Regions from separate parts of the Homo sapiens genome. Here region 2 is linked to region 1. Evidence: promoter capture Hi-C in human tissues and cell types (Jung and others, 2019). All regions are on one chromosome and are shown on one strand. Each heading gives the region's core, a stretch centred on a gene start or on the middle of the fragment in contact. The rest is flanking DNA. Distances are from core to core; before and after follow the strand shown.

What was found. Contacts are between HindIII fragments. The study calls those that stand out against the background at their distance.
Region 2: a fragment that was not itself captured here is called in contact with the fragment with the promoter of ZNF454 in region 1 in 1 of the 25 tissues and cell types used here (pancreas).

What each region holds. Positions count from the first base shown.
Region 1 is chr5:178,937,654-178,943,236 of GRCh38, forward strand. ZNF454 (zinc finger protein 454) reads left to right here and starts at 3,545. Exons shown (of 5, transcript NM_001178089.3): 1 at 3,545-3,791; 2 at 5,032-5,171. The coding sequence starts at 5,139. ZNF454-DT (ZNF454 divergent transcript) reads right to left here and starts at 3,362. Exons shown (of 1, transcript NR_186409.1): 1 at 1,023-3,362. The HindIII fragment of the contact is 17,658 bases long and covers 1-5,583 here.
Region 2 is chr5:178,975,939-178,980,925 of GRCh38, forward strand. GRM6 (glutamate metabotropic receptor 6) reads right to left here. Exons shown (of 11, transcript NM_000843.4): 11 at 2,389-4,987. It also overlaps a transcript of ZNF454 not described here. Among named protein-coding and RNA genes, the nearest start is that of GRM6, 17 kb to the right of the region's middle. The HindIII fragment of the contact is 3,460 bases long and covers 795-4,254 here.

The DNA.
Region 1 (5,583 bases), core at 2,295-4,794:
TTCTTTAACGAATAAAAGTGGAGCTGCAGAATATGGTGCCAGTACCCCTCTCCTAGATACTGCATAGCTTCCAACTGCCTCTGGCTCCTGAAAAATATCACAACAGATCTGGAGGAGAAGGGTCTCTGAAAAATTTATGAATGCTTATAACTTAATTGAGGTAGGTTATTTCCCTGCCTATATACACATTGGCATGATCTGATGGTCTGTGGTCAAGAGACTCATAAGTAATTGGCCTGTGCTGCATGTTATTGTGACAAGGATGAGTAAGACCTTGTTCCTACTCATAGTGTAGTTCATTCAAGCAACTAACATTTATTGAGCTCCTAGCATAAGTCAGCTTCTATGAATTCCAGGGTAAATGACGCCTGCTCTCTGCTGTCAAGTAGCTCCTAGCACACAGTGCCATAAGAGTGAACTAGTTGGGTGAACAGAAGACGGGAGGAAATGAGAAGGTGCAGGGAAGAATAGGAGTAATGGCAAGAGAGGCTAAGAGAGCATAGTGTATATTCAGGAAATTCTAAGAGATGTATGATTTAAGCATAGAGTAGAAGTCAAGAAGCAGGAAGAAATGAGGCTAAAGGAAGACCTTATTATATCACGCTTCAAGGGTCCCAACAGGGCTCAGCAAATGGACACCAGGAATTACTGGCACGTAGCCACTGTCCTGGGGAAGCGTAAGCAGACTGGTGATGGAGGTCTTGGTCAAATGTAAGTGTTCATTTGCATATCCATAGTTAATAGAGCAGAAGGGAAAGGGGTTCTCCAGACCACGTTTTAACCTCCTTTCTCCGAGGAGACTGGTTCCTGATGAGAATCCTTGACAGAAGCGGGGGCTTCCTCAGTGAATACTCAGAACAATATAGTGTGTGAGTCCTGGCTAAAGTCAAAGGGTGTGTCAGGCTTCATATCAGAGGTTTCACTGCTTCTCTTCAGCTTGAATAGTTTTGTTTTTTAGTTGGCTGTGGAAGGGCACCTGTTAGGTACTCCTAACAGACTACAGCATCACCAGGACAAATGGGTCAGATAAATGAAGGTTTTATTACTGTTTTCAGTTCTGGAAGACTTGGGCCTTTGTATGTCAGTTCTTTGCCATCTGGGTGACAAGTAATAAGAGCACTTTTGAACCTTCCAACATCAACAGGAGAAGGACTCCTGGTTCCAAGGACATGGGACCTGAGCAAGGCACTTAACAGATGAGTGCCTCAGTTTTCTCATTTATTAATAGGGCAAACCTCAGTTTTTGGTTGCATTAGATAATGTAAAGTGCTTGTAAAAGTGCCCAACATGGCCAGGCGCAGTGGCTCATGCCTGTAATCCCAGCACTTTAGGGGGCCGATGCGGGCGGATCACCTGAAGTCAGGAGTTCAGCCTGACCAACCTGGGGAAACCCCATCTCTACTAAAAGTACAAAATTATCCAGGCGTGATGGCGCATGCATGTAGTCCCAGCTACAGGGGAGGCTGAGGCAGGAGAATTGCTTGAACCCGGGAGGCGGAGCTTGCGGTAAGCCGAGGTCATGCCATTGCACCCCAGCCCGGGCAACAAAAGTGAAACTGTGTCTCAAACAAAAAAACTCCCAACATGTAGTTAGTGCTCAATACATATTATCATTCTTAAATTCCTGAAAACAATAATATCCAAACTCCTGAGCATAGCACCCAAAACCCTTCAATATCTTAGAATCATTAGGCTCTCAAAGCAAATGCCTTGTGGAAAGGTTATATAATTGTGGGAGGCTACTTGTAATTGTGGACTGCTGTCATTGCCTCCTCATTGGTCTTCCTGTATCCCCTCTAGCCCCACCACTGTCTGCCTTCTTTGAAGCTGACCAGTGCGTCTATCAAAACGTGCCCAGCCATGTCACTCTTTCAAATCTAATCATTTCCAGGCACAGAAATAAATCCAAATTTCCTTCCTTCAAGGCCTGTAGTTACTCCTGCAACAGCATCTCGCAGTCTTCCTTGTTCAGTAGGCCCTCGCCAGTCATACTGACCTTGCCAAGCCTGGAGTTCACCAAGCACACTTCTCTCTGGTCAGCATTTCTGTTCCCTCCCTTTAGAAGGCACTTTACCCATACAGTCACATCGTTTCTTCCCTCACTGTATTCAAATCTCTGCTCAGGTGTTACCTCCTCAAAGAGAACTTCCAAAACTGCTGCTTGAAATAATTCCCCGCCCCATCACACCCTAACCCCTAACAGTAGTGTTATCACTACCAGATAAATACTTTCTACTTGTCTGACCCCTCCTCTAGTACAATTAAAACTCCATGAGTGCAGGGTTTTCACAGCTATTTCTCCAGCCCCTGGACTCGGGGTTCTTACTCTCTGGAGCCCAGTTTGAGTGACCTGGAGTCACGAGGGAGGCGAGAGAGAAGGGTTACCAGCGATACTCACACAACATCCTCCCCCTCTGGTGCTTTGCCGGGTCCCTGGGAACTGCTACAGGGGCTGCACAGCGGCTGACCCTGGCCTTGTCAAGCACTTGACACATAAGTGCTCCAAAGTGTCTATGGAATGAAATCTTCAATAAAACTCCAAACAGAATGCTGTAGTCACTGACACTGCTTCCTAAAACGTGGCCAACAATTCCGTATGTGACAAACAGGTCACATTCTTGATTTTTTTTAACGACCAACAAAGTTAAAACCCTCTCATCTTTCCTTCCTGAGCTCCATGCAAATTACCTATTCAAAAGCAACTAAGTATCTCCAGTTGGATATTCTTAGGCATCATCTCATCCTTGCCAGTCTCTGCAAAATATGGTCGACAAAAATAAATACCACCTTCTTAAATACCACCCAGCTGTCCAAGATGGAGACTTCCTGGCATCCAGGCGCCTTCCTCTCCCTCGTCCCCACCTCTGAGAAGTTCCCAAGCACGAAGTGTTCTGCGTCCCGAACATTCCAGGGGCCGCCAGCCACCATGGGCTCTGTCCTGAGGTGCCAAGCAGGACATCCCTGCCCGACATCCTTGTCCTCCCGCACCGCACACGCGTTAGTGGCTGTGGCGTCGCCACCCCAGCACACGCTGGCCCGCCCGCAGTGCCAGGCTGGAAGTGTCGGGCGCTTGCCAGGCCAAGGGGCAATTCTGTTGCCTTCCAGGCCTTTTCGGCGCGGTCCCAGTCAGGAACGCGCCCTGTCGCCTCCCACTCCGTCTTCCGGACCCTCCCGATCCTCTCTCGTCAGCGATCGGGCGTCGCTCCCCTGGACTAACCTCCCTTGCCCCATCTTCAGCTTTTCGCTGATCTGCATCTTCCTGCGCCTTAGTGCAAGGCAGAGACCTGGTTCTAAAGCGAACGGAACGGAACCGATTCTGTAAGTTGCAATGAGCGCGCTGAGGTCGGCGTGGAGGGGTCTCTGGGAAAGGTAGTTTCCGCGCCTAAAGCGCCGGGGCCGGGCCCTGTTCCCGCAGGCGCAAGGCAGCACTGTCTCCGCCGATTGTCCCTCTGGGAAGTGGAGTCTGGCCGGCGGAACTGCAGCAGCCCTGAGACTTGTGGGAATTCGGCCCAAGGGTTCCCAGGGCAACGCGCAAGCGCAGTTCGGCTCCCGGCTGCAGACTCCAGCTCATTGTGTTCTGACTGCGATGTGGCGCTTGCGATCTCTCGCCGCCGGCAGAGGCTCCTCGAAGAGCGACACGGGGCTGACCAGGCACGGTGGTCAAAGCCGCAGAGGGAGAGCGGGAGCGGTCGTGAGGTCGTCTGGGGAGAAGGGCGGAGGCAAAGCCGAGGAGGTGCGGGTTGTGGTCCATTCTGGAGGACGCTGATCGAATGCCCCAAACTTCCCGGAATGTATGTCTGAGATTTGATCCCAGAGAGGGAGGACGGCCAGGGGTGGTCATCCTGGGCTGAGGGTCGAGTCTGTGAGTGCCTGTGGAGGAGATGGAGCCAGGGCCTCTGGCATGTGTCTTGGAGCGGACTCCGAGAAGCCCAGGGTTTCCTCTCAGGTGATAGATACACGCCTGGCGTGGTTCCGAGTCCTGCGCCAGGAACTCGCCAAGGCCGGAGGCAGCCGCTGCGCAGCCCCTGCCACAGCCCCCGAGGGACCTGGCGAAGCGGCAGGGGCGGGACGGGGCTGTGTGTGATTAGGGTTCCTAACCCTTCCCTCTCCCCTCCCGCCCAGCTCACACAAACGCCGCTTCTGCCCACCCGTGACTCCAGGCCACCCAGACTGGGCCCCAGAGAGTGAGAACACTGAGGCCAGAGAAGGGTTTGCCTGAGAGGCTTCGACAGTGAAGAGCCTTCTTAGCCTCCTTTCTGAGGAGGAAGAAGACCACCCTCCTTTTCCTCTTCTCCTGTCACTGCCAGATAAGGCAGCTGTTCCAAAGCCGCAGAGGGAGAGCGGAGCGGTCTTCCAATCCAGTCGAACCCAGACACTGCCCTCCGTTGCCTCTCCCCAGCGCTCCCACCTTTTCGGGTACATCCTGGTGGGTTCTGGAGCTGAATAACTTGTTAAAGAGATAATTCTCGGCCGAGTGCGGCGGCTCACGCCTGTAATCCCAGTACTTTGGGAGGCCGAGGCGAGCCGATCACCTGAGGTCCGGAGTTCGAGACCAGTCCGACCAACATGGTGAAATCCCGGTCTCTACTAAAAATATAAAAAATTAGCCGGGCGTGGTGGCGGGTGCGTGTAATCCCAGCTACTCCGGAGACTGGGGCGGGAGAATCGCTTGAACCCGGAAGGCGGAGGTTGCAGTGAGCCAAGATCGTGCCACTGCACTCCAGCCTAGGTGACAGAGCGAGACTCTGTCTCAAACAAACAAACAAAAAAAGAATTCTCTTGAGATCGCTCAGTGAGGCTGAAGGGAAAGACCAGAGGGTGGGTGGAAGGCATGAGAACTGGACCTGGAGCAGGCTTTCTGCAGGGAAAAGTCAATGTATAGTACCCTCAGAAGGAGGAGAGAGAATGGGGAGCAAACAGGAACCAAAACACTCACTGCTTGGGGTACTGGAGGCCTCCCAGGATGTGAATGCTCACTGCCTCGCTCTGGACTGCTGTATGAGAGCTTTTGACCCAGTTCTCTCCTAATAGCAGGTGTGTGGACCCTTCTAGCCTGAGGAGTCCTGCAGGTGTGAAGCTCCACACCTGCCTCCATAGCACTTTGCCTGTCCCTAAGAGGGCTCATCGGAGAAGAAAGAATGGCTGTCAGCCACCTGCCAACCATGGTCCAGGTGAGTGGGGGTTTCTTCCCCCTAAATTGCTTTCTGGATTTGAAGAGTGTGGCATGTTTGCTTCCTCAGACCGGGAGCTTTATTCCCAATCCAGTCCCACCCAGACACTGACCTCAGTTGCCTCTCCCCAACCAACACCCTCCAACCCCGCCCCATATCCGGCTCATCCTGGTGGGTGTTGCAGCTGTATAACTTGCTAAAGGTCACATAAATGTCACAGCTGGGACTGGAACCCAGGTCCCTGTGAAATCAAAACCTGTACTCTTTTCACTAGCAAGTAAGATTAGGGATCTGAAGTGGTAAAAGCATGTATTAGTCCCTTTTTACATTGCTCTAAATAAATATCTGAGGCTGGGGAATTGATAAGAAGTTTAATTGGCCCACGGTTCTGTAGGCTGTACAGGAAGCATGG
Region 2 (4,987 bases), core at 1,275-3,774, 37 kb after region 1:
CTAATCTGTTGATCCTTTGGGCTCTGTTCTCTGGAGAGCCCTGACTGCTCCACTCTGCTGCCTTCCTCACATTTTCTCCCCTGCTCACCCTACTCCTCCATGCCACTCTCTTTGCTTGGTCCCCAAAACACCAGGCCGACCCCTGCCCTTGGGCCTTGCACTTGCCACTCCGCCTGCAGGACCCCATCCCCCAGATATCCCCATGGCTCACTCCCCACCTCCTTCAGATGAAGCCTGTACTGGATTGCCCTATTCAAAATTGCAGCCATCCCCCGCCAGCTGCCCCATTCTCTGTACCCTGCTCTGCTGTTTTCTTTTGTCCACAGCACATCACCCTTTAACATACAGTGTCATTTATTGGTTAGTTTTGTATGTTGTTTATTGTGTGTCTCCACCACTAGGGTGCAAGTCCTATGAGGGAAGCAGTTCCTGTCTATTTTGTCTGCTGATGTATCCCAGGTGCTTAGCACAGAGTAAGCACCCAAGGGTACCTGTGGGACCAAAATGAATAAGCAGTCTGTGGGGGGCAGTGAGGAGGGGCTAGCTGGGAGTGAGATGGGGTCCTGGGACTGCTCAGCTGTGGGGCTGGGTTAATGAGTGGGGTCTGTGTGGGCAGTGATTGGTAGGACTGGGAGGATCAATGGTAGGCTAATGGGGCCAGCAATTTGGGCACCTCTGCAGGGTGCATTAAGGAGACTCTGGCTTTTAGTGACTGTGGGAGGAATGAGTATCTTGCCCAAGGTCACTCATCTAGCAGAGCTGGAGTTGACCTCAAGAAGACTTAACCATGACACAGTGCAAGGTCAAGCTGTGAAAGCTGACTTAAAGAAGTACACAGGGCATGGGCAAGACAAGGTCTGTGTGCCCTGGAAGTTTTACCTGTCTTACCTGTCTGCAGACCAGAATGGGAAAAATAACTCAGATGTTGATACTACAGGTATATTCAGTATTTGAGAGCTCTGATCAGACCCAATCTGGCAGATTGTATCAGTGCACAGTGCCTGGGGCCGTGTTCCCCTAGACTAATGTGCCCTCTCTGCTGTTTCTGTTAGGAGAGTCTGCAGGTAAATTTGAGAATAAACCACAGCCAGATGGAGGTGACAGGAGATGGCTGGGACCCTAGCAATGGGACACAGCACCACGGTGCCATGGAACGGTGATTTTTATAATACTATGTAGGATGAATAAGAGGGAAAAGATACAAGAAGCAGAAAGACTAGTTAGTATTCTGACAGAATAATTGCTATAGGTTGAATATTCATGTTGCTCCAAAATGCATATGGTGAGATCCTAACCCCCATTGTATGGTATTTGGAGCTGGGGCCTTTGGGAGGTTATGAAAGTAGAGCCCTCGGGAATGGGATTAGAGCCCTTATAAAAGAGACCCCAGGGTGCCCTCACACTTCCCACCATATGAGGACACAGCAAGGGAGTGCTGTTTAAGAACAAGCAGGCAGCCCTCACCAAATCCACTGGTGTCTTGCTCTTGGACTTTCCAGCCTCCAGAACTATGAGAAATGTCTGTTTTTTAGAAGCCACTGAGTCTATGGTACTCTTTTATAGCAGCCTGAATAGAGTAAAACAGTAATCCACAAATGAAGTGATGAGGCTTAAAATTTTCAAATTCAGTCTTCTTTTTTTTTTTTTTGGAGACAGAGTTTTTCTTTGTTGCCCAGGCTGGAGTGCAATGGCACGATCTCAACTCACAGAAACCTCCGCCTCCCGGGTTCAAGCGATTCTCCAGCCTCAGCCCCCCGAGTAACTGGGATTGCAGACATGTGCCACCATGCCCAGCTAATTTTGTGTTTTTAGTAGAGATGGTGTTTTGCCGAGATGGTGTTTCGCCATGTTGGCCAGGCTGGTCTTGAACTCCTGGCCTCAAGTGATCCACTCACCTCAGCCTCCCAAAGTGCCAAGATTACAGGCATGAGCCACTGCACTCAGCCAGATCCAGTCCTTTTACTAATTTACTTCTCTACACCCTTGCGTGCCTTTTAGAATTCTATCCAACTGGTCAGTTTCTTCTTATCAGAGCCTTATTCCTTCTTGGTTCCTATCCCTTACATTTCTTCAGCCTTTTCTCCACAGGGTGGAATGTCATTTTTGAAACCCCCCAAGCTACTTGTAATAAGCATCAGTATTCCACTCTGGCTGTCCATACTACAGCAGTTTTTCCCCTGTCAAAGCCCAAGAGATAGAAAATATTTAGTTTGGAATTTTTCACGTTTAGAAACAAAGGTATCAATATAACAAAGAGTATTTGTGAAGCAGTTTCATTCTATAAAATGATGAGAAGATTCACTTGGAATTGTGCATTTTATTCCATTTTTGAAGAAGTTTTATGAAACAATATCTGTATAAAGAAGCAACCGAAGACCTAAGTCAAACTTTTGGGAAAAGTTAAATTTATTGAACAGGAAGTAACTGAATAAAGTCAGTTACCTGGACTCTTTACAGTAAGCAATGAATGTAATAAATTAAAGGGAAATTTCTAAAGAGCAAAAAGGATAAGAAATGGGACAAAGCTATAATAAATGTGTCAGAAGATTCACACAAGTGAGACAGCCTAAGAAAATGGTTACTATACAGAAGCTCTTCTGTAGAAGTCTCAACACAGTGGACCACAGGTGAGACCTTATAAATAGGTGGTTAAAGCTTACATCAGAACGTAATCTTACTCTGCTTTAGAGCTCTCATCCCAGAGAGGAACACTGCAATTTTAATTGTGTAAACATGGAATAAGCCTCCAACCCAGAACTCCATTTTCACTGGAACATATAATTCATACAAATAATTCAAGGGCAACAAATGGGACAAAACCTTCGGTGCAGGTCAGCTCTCACTCGACATAAGAGAAACCACACTGGAAGAATGCCTTATAAATTCCACACATAGAAGAAAACCCACAAAACTTTATTCAGGGGTCCAAATAAATTGGACCTCAAAGAATTCAAACCCATGCATGCAAAAAAACAGGAAAATCTTTAGGGAGCTGTCAACCTCCACTGAACACCACAGAAATGATCAAAGAGGCTAGGTGCGATGGCTCACGTTTGTAATCCGAACACTTTGGGAGGTGGAGGCAGGAGGATCGCTCGAGCTCAGAAGTTCGAGACCAGCCTGGGCAACATAGTGAGACCTCGTCTCTACAAAAAATAAAACATTAGCTGGGTATGGTCGTGCGCACCAGCTACTCAGGAGGCTGAAGCGGGAGGATTGCTTGAGCCCAGGTCGAAACTTCAGTGAGCTATGATCGTGCCACTGCACTCCAGCCTAAGAAATTGAGCAAGACCCTATCTCGAAAAAATAAAATAATAACATAAAGAAATGATCACAGGCAGAAACTGTATGCACACACCGAGTGTGGAAAAGCCCTCTTGTGGAAGTCAGTTATTTGTGTACATCAGAAAATTCTGGAAGGAGAGAAACCTTGTGAAGGTACTAAATATGACAACATCTTCAGTAACAGAGGATGTCCCCCTGTACCCAGAATGGTGCATGCTGTGGAGATACCCTGCAAGTAGACCGAATGTGAGAAAGCCACAGGAGTACATGGGCCTCGCGGTGCATCAGAGTTCCTGCCAGAGAGGCCCACAGGCATGAACATGGCAGAGTGTGAAAGTCGTCTGCGGGAAGCCAGGACTCTATGCCAGAAACTTCACACTGGGGAGAAATCCTCAGTGCAATCAGTGTAGAAATGCCTCTACTAAGAACTGCTTCTGATTCTGAATCACAGAGTTCACAGTGGAGAAAACCACATGAATGTAAAACTGTGGAAAAGTTTTCAGCTAGAAGCCAGAGCGCACTGCACACCAAAGAATTCACACTGGGAGAGACATGAGAAAACAGCAAATGCAGGAAAACTTTCCCTTGGAGATCAGAGCTCACTGATCTCAGAGTTCATACAGGAGAAGAGCCCTATACAATCACGAGGGTGGAACCGCCTTTGGCAAGAAAACACGCCCCATTACCCATGAGAGAGCTGCACAGGAGAGAAACCCTATGGAATAAATAATTCTGGAAAGCATTCAGCAACAAATGAAACGTCCTAATGTGCACTATAGAGAAGCCCTAGGAACACAACAAATGTGGAGAAGGAGAGTCAGTAGCGCAACAGAAATGTTTCTCAGAGGAGAAGCTTTTAAGTTAATTACTTAAAACCTGCAGAAGCACCTAGTCCCACGGTCAAAACCAACTGCGCACCAGAGAAGCTGCATGGGAAAGTTTGTATGTTGGATAAAGTGTGGTTCACCCTCAAAACTAGCTCCAGACATCACAGACTAGAGAATGTATACTGATCTTAAACAGTGGTCAATTTAACAAATGTAAATTCTACTCCCAGGGACATAAAACTCCATAACTTAAACCAAGCTTTTTGTAAAAACTATCAGTGAAAAACAAATGTGCGTGCATCTGCAGCCCAAGCCTCTTCCTCCCCAGGCCTGGCGCTCAGCTTGCAAATGGACTTCCCAGTACCTATGAGGAATGAAGGGTTTCCATACCCGTCCTGAGCCATCCACTTGGGATTCACCCTCACCACGGCCATGACTCTCTGTCACTGCTCCCAACCTGGAGCTCCTAAACCCATCCCCAACCCGAACACAACACAAATGCACCCCTGCTCCTTGTTCTCACATCACTAACATTACACACGTGTATCTGAATTTCTTCAGGTTTGGGGGTTTTTTTGGTGTTTTTTTGTTTTGTTTTTTTGAGACAGAGTCTCGCTCTGTCACCCAGGCTGGAGTACAGTGGCACAATCACAGCTCACTGCAACCTCCACCTCCCAGGTTCAAGCGATTCTCCTGCCTCAGCCTCCCAAGTAACTGGGATTACAGGCACCCACCATCACACCTGGCTAATTTTTGTATTTTTAGTAGAGACAGGGTTTCACCACATTGGCCAGGCTGGTCTCGAACTCCGGACCTCAGGTGATCCACCTGCCTCGGCCTCCCAAAGTGCTGGGATTACAGGTGTGAGCCACCAT